Regions from separate parts of the Homo sapiens genome. Here region 2 is linked to region 1. The links are contacts of gene promoters, found by promoter capture Hi-C in blood cells and fetal thymus (Javierre and others, 2016). All regions are on one chromosome and are shown on one strand. Each heading gives the region's core, a stretch centred on a gene start or on the middle of the fragment in contact. The rest is flanking DNA. Distances are from core to core; before and after follow the strand shown.

The links. The method cuts DNA at HindIII sites, captures the fragments that hold promoters and counts their contacts. A CHiCAGO score of 5 or more calls a contact.
Region 2: the fragment with the promoter of ABHD3 here is called in contact with the fragment with the promoter of ESCO1 in region 1 in 13 of 17 cell types (monocytes, activated CD4 T cells, naive CD8 T cells and 10 more); the score reaches 8.3 in monocytes.

Annotation. Positions count from the first base shown.
Region 1 is chr18:21,598,833-21,602,853 of GRCh38, reverse strand. ESCO1 (establishment of sister chromatid cohesion N-acetyltransferase 1) reads left to right here and starts at 2,150. Exons shown (of 12, transcript NM_052911.3): 1 at 2,150-2,231. RefSeq lists enhancers at 521-600, 1,925-2,444, 3,512-3,806. The HindIII fragment of the contact is 1,991 bases long and covers 1,175-3,165 here.
Region 2 is chr18:21,702,582-21,706,602 of GRCh38, reverse strand. It overlaps ABHD3 (abhydrolase domain containing 3, phospholipase), which reads left to right and starts at 1,829. Exons shown (of 9, transcript NM_138340.5): 1 at 1,829-2,099; 2 at 2,856-3,019. The coding sequence starts at 1,938. It also overlaps a transcript of MIB1 not described here. RefSeq lists enhancers at 1,422-1,491, 2,952-3,101 and a silencer at 1,662-2,431. The HindIII fragment of the contact is 12,122 bases long and covers 1-4,021 here.

The sequences.
Region 1 (4,021 bases), core at 901-3,400:
CAGACCAGTAGTTTACTCCTGTTCCCCCGCCCCACCCCCCGCCCCCAATTTGAGCTGTTTGGCATATGTCATTAAAGTGTGTATCAGGGACTGGAGCTGAAGGTGGAAGCAGCGGACAGGTCTTTGCCAAGTAACACAACTATGGTAATGTGAAGAATGGCCTCACCCATCAATACCTCCCAAACAGCTGGGATTACAAACGTGAGCCACTGCGCCCAGCCTCGTTTTTGTTTTTAAGCCATAACATCTCCCTGCGCAAACTGACAGGCAGCTCACTATTCGTGGAAGATGAATTGTCAGAAAAACATCAGGTTTGACAAACTTAGAGCACATTTTGGTTGTACTTGGCTTCAAAGAAGGAGGGCAGGAAGGGGAAAACCCATTTATGATCACCTCTTCCCATTCTGAAATGCAGAAGTACCGAACTAGCCTCACAGTTCCGCAAATAAGCAAAGGGTAGCACAGAACATATGTTCAAAAGCAGTCTAGTAGCCGGAGCAGTGGCTTAGGCCTGTAGTCCCAGCGCTTTGGGAAGCCAAGGAGAGAAGAGAGGATCACTTGAGGCCAGGAGTTCGAGATCAGCCTGGGCTGGTCTCAGTGAGACCTTATCCCTACAAAATATAAAAAAATTAGCCTGGCGGCCGGGCGCGGTGGCTTACGCCTGTAATCCCAGCACTTTGGGAGGCCGAGGCAGGTGGGATCACAAGGTCAGAAGTTCGAGACCAGCCTGGCCAAGATGGTGAAACCCCGTCTCTACTAAAAATAAAAAATTAGCCGGGCATGGTGGCAGGCACCTGTAGTCCCAGCTACTCAGGAGGCTGAGGCAGGAGAATTCCTTGAACCTGGGAGGCGGAGGTTGCAGTGAGCCGAGATCGTGCCATTGCACTCTAGCCTGGGTGACAAGAGTGAGACTCCATCTCAAAAAAAAAAAAAAAAATTAGCCTGGCATGGTGTCGTGGGCTTCATACATGCAGTTCTCAGGGAGGCTGAGGCAGGTGGGATCGCTTGAGCCCAAGTCGAGGCTGCAGTGAGCCGTTACTGTGCCACTGCACACCAGCCAGGGCTACACAGCAAGATCCTTCCTGTCACAAAAGAAAGAAGTGTGGGAACCATGAATCCTAGTGATAGAATCTTGGATTCTATCTCTAGAGGCGTCCAAGAGCGAGCCAAAGCTTTGTCTGAACACTCAGTCTGACTAAGTCTAGCAGAATATTTTACAATTTCTGATGATTCTTGCACTCTGATACACAGGAAGAAAGTGTGCAAGGAGAGGGCGAAGCCCTGCATTTTTTGGAGGTGCTGGAGGGCAGTGTAGGGACTGCACCCTCCTTTTTTTTTTATTTGAGACAGGGTCTCACTCGTCCAGACTAGAGTGCAGTGGCCCAGTCTCAGCTCACCACAACCTCCGCCTCCCAGGCTCAAGGGATTCTCCCGCCTCAGCCTCTCGAGTAGCTGGGATTACAGTCGCACGCCACTACCACCCGGCTAATTTTTGTATTTCTAGTAGAGACGGGGTTTCACCATGTTGGCCATGTTGGCCAGGCTGGTCTCGAACTCCTAACCTCAAATGATCCACCCGCCTCTGCTTCCCAAAGTGCTGGGATTACAGGCGTGAACCACCGCGCCCGGCCCCACCCTCCTTCTTTACATTGGCTCATATGGAAGACCAAAGGCACTTGGATTATACATCGCAGACAGAAGCAGCCAAAACCTACATGGCAACCAGTTGCGACAAATTTCCAAGGTAAACCACAACCGCTGGGGGCCTGGGTGGTTTTCAGCTCAAAGCGATGACCCCAGGAACGACAAGCGGCCGCCGCTAGGGGGCGCCGCCACTTCCCTGCCAGGCGACCACCCGCGGAGGCGCGCGCGCTAGGCCTCCCACCGCGCCTGCGCTGAGGATGGACACTAGCTCGCCTTTCCTCGACGCCCAGCCGTCCGGGCCGGGGTGAAAAACTGCGTGACACGCAGTGAGCGTGGCGGCCATCTTCGTCTTCTGGGCACGTCAGCTGAGCCGGTTAGGGCTGAAGAGGAGCGTTGCGCAAGCGCACCCAAGACGGTCACAGGTAACTCCCATCTGACGAGCGAGGCGTCGCCGTCGTCGCCGGAAGTTTGGTGTTTGCGCCGCGGGGGAGGCGGCGGCCGCAGCAGAAGCAGCTGAGTGTCTCCTGATACCCGGATGTGAGGCGATCCGCTGGCGCTAGTCTGACCCTCCGCCAGGCAAAAGGAAGGTACGCGAGCGTCCCTGACGGTCCCCGCCGCCTGTGTCTTCACCTCTCTTTTGCCAGCCCCTTCAGGGAGCGGACAGTTCTCCCTCTTCCTGTTCCACCCTCGGTGGCGTGTTGCCTCGCACGCCCCTTCCTACTGCTCCGGTCCCAGCTCTTCGCGCCCCTGGGAGGGAGGTGGGAGGCTCTAGGCTCCAAGACGCCGTCGCTTGAGGTAGGCAGCTAACGTGCTCGCGTGTCCGCGCACCACCTGCCGCTGTTTGCTGGGCGGTCGAAGTTCATAAGGGGTCGTGACCGCCGACGGGGCAGGGCCGGAGTTCCCAGCACTGCCGCGAGGGCTCCGGGAGCCCCGAGGTGGCGCGCAGCCATTGCTAGCACCGGGGCAGCGCCAGTGCTGGTCCCGCAGGTAGCTCCGGGCCCCGTCTCCGCCCCCTGCGTTTTCTCTTCCCGGCGCTTCACCGGAGCCAGTCCCTCGCCGCCTCCTGGCGCAACCCGCTGACCCGGCCTGAGCCTGGAGGCCTCTGCAGTTTGCGGGGCGCGATGTGGGGTCTTGGTTTTACAGCCTTCAGTTTGGGAGGGGAGCGGGCCCAAGGTCATAGAGTAACTCATGCTGCAAATGGGGGTCTCGGCACAGGTAGGGCGGCTCTGGAGTAGAAATGAGTGCATTGAGGGCCGCAGTGAAGTTTATAGCGATGGAGAGAGGCGAACCAAAGAGAATTGGGTCCTCGATTTTTATCACGGGTTAAGATTATTTTACTATGGGGGTTTATTTTGCACAGGCAGAATGGGATAGCAAGTCCAACAATTCGAAGACTACCTCCTCTCCCTCCGCCTCTCAATGATGCGTCCGAAAATCCGGCGTGTGCTTTATTTTCCGGGGCGATGGGGACGCAGCGGGGACCAGGGGAGGGAGGAAGAGGAGGAGGAAGGAGCTCAAGCTTTGCGATTTGAGAAGTACTATGAACCATGTTTTCTGTAGTCTTAGCTGCAATGAGATTCCTTTAAACAGGAATCGCAGCACACAGTATCTAGATAGTATTACAAAACGATATCTCAATAAATAAGCTTCGCAGGAAACAAAAGCGCTACTTGGTGGCATAAGGTGTGGTTAGTCCCCCCACCAGCATTGGCTTTTTTAAAAAAGTGGATAAAACATAGATTTCAGTTGAAAACATCCAGGTTGCAGTGAACTATGCTATATTCACTTTGTCTTCTGGTCAAGTACTTAGTTTCTGCTTTACACAGGACACCAACACGAATAAAGTTTTAAGTTATTATTTTATTTTGAGACGGGGTCTCGCTCTGTCGCCCAGACTGGATTGCAGTGGTGTAATCACTGTTCACTGCAGCCTTGACCTCCCTCCCCGGCCCCAAGCAATCCTCCCACCTCCGCCTCCCTGAGTGGCTGAGACTACAGGCGTCCGCTACCATGTTAGGCTAAGTTTTCTATTTGTTGTTGAGACGGCGTTTCGCCATGTTGCCCAGGCTGGTCTCGAACTCCTGGGATCAAGTGATCACCTGGGCCTCCAAAAGTGCTGGGATTACAGGCCTGAGCCACTGTGCCTGGTGAATTTTTTTTTTTTTTTGAAAAGCAAAAAATCTAATCAATGGAATTAGACATGGGAGTAGGATGAGAAGTGCTTTAAAACGTGCTTAATTTGGAAGTCGCAAATTCAGGCCTAGAGCATGTGAGGAAATGAGGAAACTAGGACTGTAATAGAGCCACTTTTTCCCTTTTAGGCAGAATGCAGAGTATCACTGTTGGGTCAGATATGTGACTTTGGAAGCACAATTCC
Region 2 (4,021 bases), core at 580-3,079, 100 kb before region 1:
AGGGCCCGCCGAGCCCACACCCACCCGGAACTCCCGCTGGCCCGTGATCGCGGGGCACAGCAGCCCCGGTTCCCGCCCACGCCTCTCTCTCCACACCTCCCTGCAAGCAGAGGGAGCTGGCTCCGGCCTCAGCCAGCCCAGAGAGGGGCTCCCACAGTGCAGCAGCGGGCTGAAGGGCTCCTCAAACGCGGCCAGAGTGGATGCCCTGGCCTGAGGAGGTGCTGAGAGCGAGCGAGGGCTGCTAGCACGTTGTCACCTCTCACCAGCACTTTGGGAGGCCGAGGCGAGTGGATCAGGAGTTCCAGACCAGCCTGGTCAACATGGTGAAACCCTGTCTCTACTGAAAATACAAGATTAGCTGGGTGTGGTTGTGCATGCCTGTAATCCCAGGTACTCGGGAGGCTGAGGCAGGAGAATCACGTGAACCCGGGAGGTGGAGGTTGCAGTGACCCGAGATCTCGCCATTGCACTCCAGCCTGGGCAACAAGAGCAAAACTCTGTCTCAAAAAACAAAACAAAACAAAACAGAACAAACTTAAACTGAAATACGCATGCATTTATTGGTAGGTAGTGCAGAAGGCTGGTGCAGGGGTTATGAAGAATGCTATGAAGTTTCAAGTATGGCAACCAGCATATGCATTCACGTTTGCTATGTGTGCTCAGGTGTGAGAGCCAGAGCGTGAAAATTACTTCTGCTCACGGGGAGTCCAGTATATACACTATCTTGTCCTCTCGGGAACTCTATAAAGTAGAAATTGTTACGCTACAGATTATTAAAACAAGAAAAAAACAGGCTCAGTAAAGGTAATTGAATTATTTTGGGTGCTGCAGCCAACCACCAAGTTGCAATGACCAAATCGGAGCCAAATAAATTGCTCACTTCTGGTCCGTCTCATGTCCCCATCTAAATTACATCATTAATTTACAATCCTTTGGCATTTTTCATAATCTAGACAGCACTTTCCCTTCTTTCGTCTGTTTAAGTCTTGCCATTCTTCCTACCTCTCTGAGGAAGGAGTTCATAAGAGTAGGAATAGGCTATTAAATTCTAACCATTTCAGATAACCATAAGTATCCTGATTTATCATATTGCCATAAATAAGCCTAGGAGACCCTACTTCATAAATGGTTTCTTGTCTGTACATTAGGTAATCGGTGTGAATTTCCATAAGTCTCTAAATTCAAAGCATTAATGAACCACAAATAGGCTTTTAACAATTGAATCCCGGTTGCTATTCTTGACCTTTTCATTTATTTTCAGAGACCACTTCTCATTTAAGTGACACTTAGCAACTAAAAAGATTCACAGAGTGATTCAGAGTCGAGTATGATGTCCTCACTGTTGAATGCTCATAGAATATTTTTTCTCTTTCCATAGTCTTGAGGACCAACGCAAACGTCTAGAGGATGTGGGATTCTTACCTGCTAACATATCTTTGGCATTAACTCCCCAAATCTTTGAATGCAAGGCACGCTTACCTGACACCCTAAACTGCTAGTTTAGGGACACCCGCCGCAGAGCGGAATCGTTCAAGGTCACTGGGGCTGCAGGTGCGGGGCCTTAACCAGCGCTGCCGATCCGTCAGCTCTCGGCCCACCCTTGGGGATCCCCATCGCCCACTGCGACCTAGCTGGGAGAACCCAGTCCGCCCGCCCTCCCGGTGGCCGGTCTTGGAACCGCGCTTCTGGAAGGTTCCTGAGTGGCTGGCAGTGGGGGCGGCTCCAGGAAGCCGGGGCGGAGCGGGCGGCGTTGGAGTCTCGGGCTACGCCTCCCTGGGCCGCTCCGCCCCGCCCGTTGTCGGAAGCCGCGCTCCGCCAGGCAGGAGACACTGTGGTCGGGAGTAGGCAGCGGCGCCGCGTCCGCTCTCGCCCGCTCTCGCCCGCTCGCCAGCCGGCTCTCCTCCCGCCGCAGGACCCGCGCGCCGCGCTCGGGGGCCATGCAGCGCCTGGCCATGGACCTGCGGATGTTGTCCCGGGAGCTCTCCCTCTACCTGGAACACCAAGTCCGGGTGGGGTTCTTCGGCTCGGGGGTGGGCTTATCCCTTATCCTGGGCTTCAGCGTCGCTTATGCCTTCTACTACCTGAGCAGCATTGCCAAGGTGAGCCGGGGGTGGCGCAGGGCCGCGGGCTGCTGGGCCAGGAGCTAGGGTAGCAGGCGCGGCGCGAGGCTGCGCGGCCAGGGGCGGTCGGCAGCCCCGGGGATAGGCGGCGAGCTGCTCCCGAGCGGCAGCCCCCAGCGCGCGCGGGAAAGCCAACAGGCCCCGCCCGTTCGCCCGCCCCCTGGGGGTCCCGGCCGGGTGGTCCTCGGAGCGCAGCCTGAACCCGGCTGACTTCTGCGCTGCGGCGCTGCCCGGTCACCGATCGCGAAGCCGGCGGCGCACTCGGGAACGCCGTGGCGCTTTTGAAAATGACTCCGGGCAGGGCACGGTGGCTCACGCCTGTAATCTCAGCACTTTGGGAGCCCGAGGCGGGTGGATCACCTGAGGTCAAGAGTTCGAGACCAGCCTGACCAAAATGGTGAAACCCCGTTACAATTACAAAAAATTAGCCGGGCGTGGTGGCGGACGCCTGCAATCCCAGCTACTCGGGAGGCTGAGGCAGGAGAATCCCCTGAACCCGGGAGGCGGAGTTAAAAACAAACAAACTCCCTTATCGCGATTCTCGCCTTCCCCTCGGGGCATTGGCGAAACCCCCGTTTCAGTCCTCTGTGACTGTGAATTTTTTGCGTCAGCCCTCCAGAAAGAGTTGTAATCGGAGGAAGCGCGCGCGCGAGCGACAAGTCTTTGCCGGTTTCTGGTTTACGGTTGGCAGAAACTTTGCTCTGGGCCCTTCTCTGATACTGCTTTTCCCTTCAGAAACCCCAGTTAGTGACCGGGGGTGAGAGTTTCAGCCGCTTCCTTCAAGACCACTGTCCCGTGGTTACAGAAACGTACTACCCGACGGTCTGGTGCTGGGAGGGTCGAGGACAGACCCTGCTTAGACCTTTCATCACTTCGAAGCCCCCGGTGCAGTACAGGAAGTAAGTGAATTTCCGTTTTCAGTCATTTCTGCAAAATCACAGGTTGTTTGTTTGCTTGCTTGCTTATTCCCAGTTCTTGGTTAATAGAATCTGCTTTAGGAAGTATATAGAACAGAAAGAGGGAATGAAAATGGAAGGTACGTCCCCGGCTCCACCCCCAGCTGCAGGAAAATACCCCAGCTGCAGGTATTTGCCTCCTGGTCCCCGCCCTAACCGCCAACCTGATGTAAATGGTTTATTTTTAGGATGAGAGAAGTGTTTGGGGATTACTGTCTCGCAGTTTGTCATACATCTGTCAGAAAGACCCAGATCTTTTGATGATCTGCATTCATTCATTGATAAGTAGCAGATACTGGGGGGGGGGGTGGGGTGAGAAGGATGCCACTTAATTTGGGTTTTGGGCGATTTATTGGTGTAAAATGACTTCCTATTGACAGGCAAATGGGATCTTGATGATAATAGCTCTTGATGTGTTAAAGATACGGTCCAGGATTTATCAGGAACCAGATTTAAATGGTGCCTGTTATTAATTTCCCTTAGTCATCTATCCTTCTGGAGTTTATTTTGTTGCCTGGAACTTGCACTGTTTGTTTGGGAAAATTCTGTAAGTTCATGAATACTATGTGAGAAATAATTTAAATTATTTCAGAAGAAAATCTTGAAGTATACTATACAAGGAGACTGCATTATTGAGTCCAAAGAGCTAGAGCAGTGGTCAGAGATTAGATCAGCATTTTACTTACTCAGACTTCCCTGTCGCATTAGTTGAGTGACCTCAATCAAACAAGGGTTAAATGCTGGATGTTTTGGAGTAATGAGTAAGTATTCATTTATCTTAATAATTAGCAGTTCATTTTTATATACGACCTTGTACGGAGGTTGCTGGAAATACTTGATGGTACTAATCTTCATAAAATCCTTCTAATGAAAGAAAATGATATGTAGATCGAGATATGGGTGTGTGTTCGTGAATGCTGGAAAAATGTTATTTTTTGATGAGCA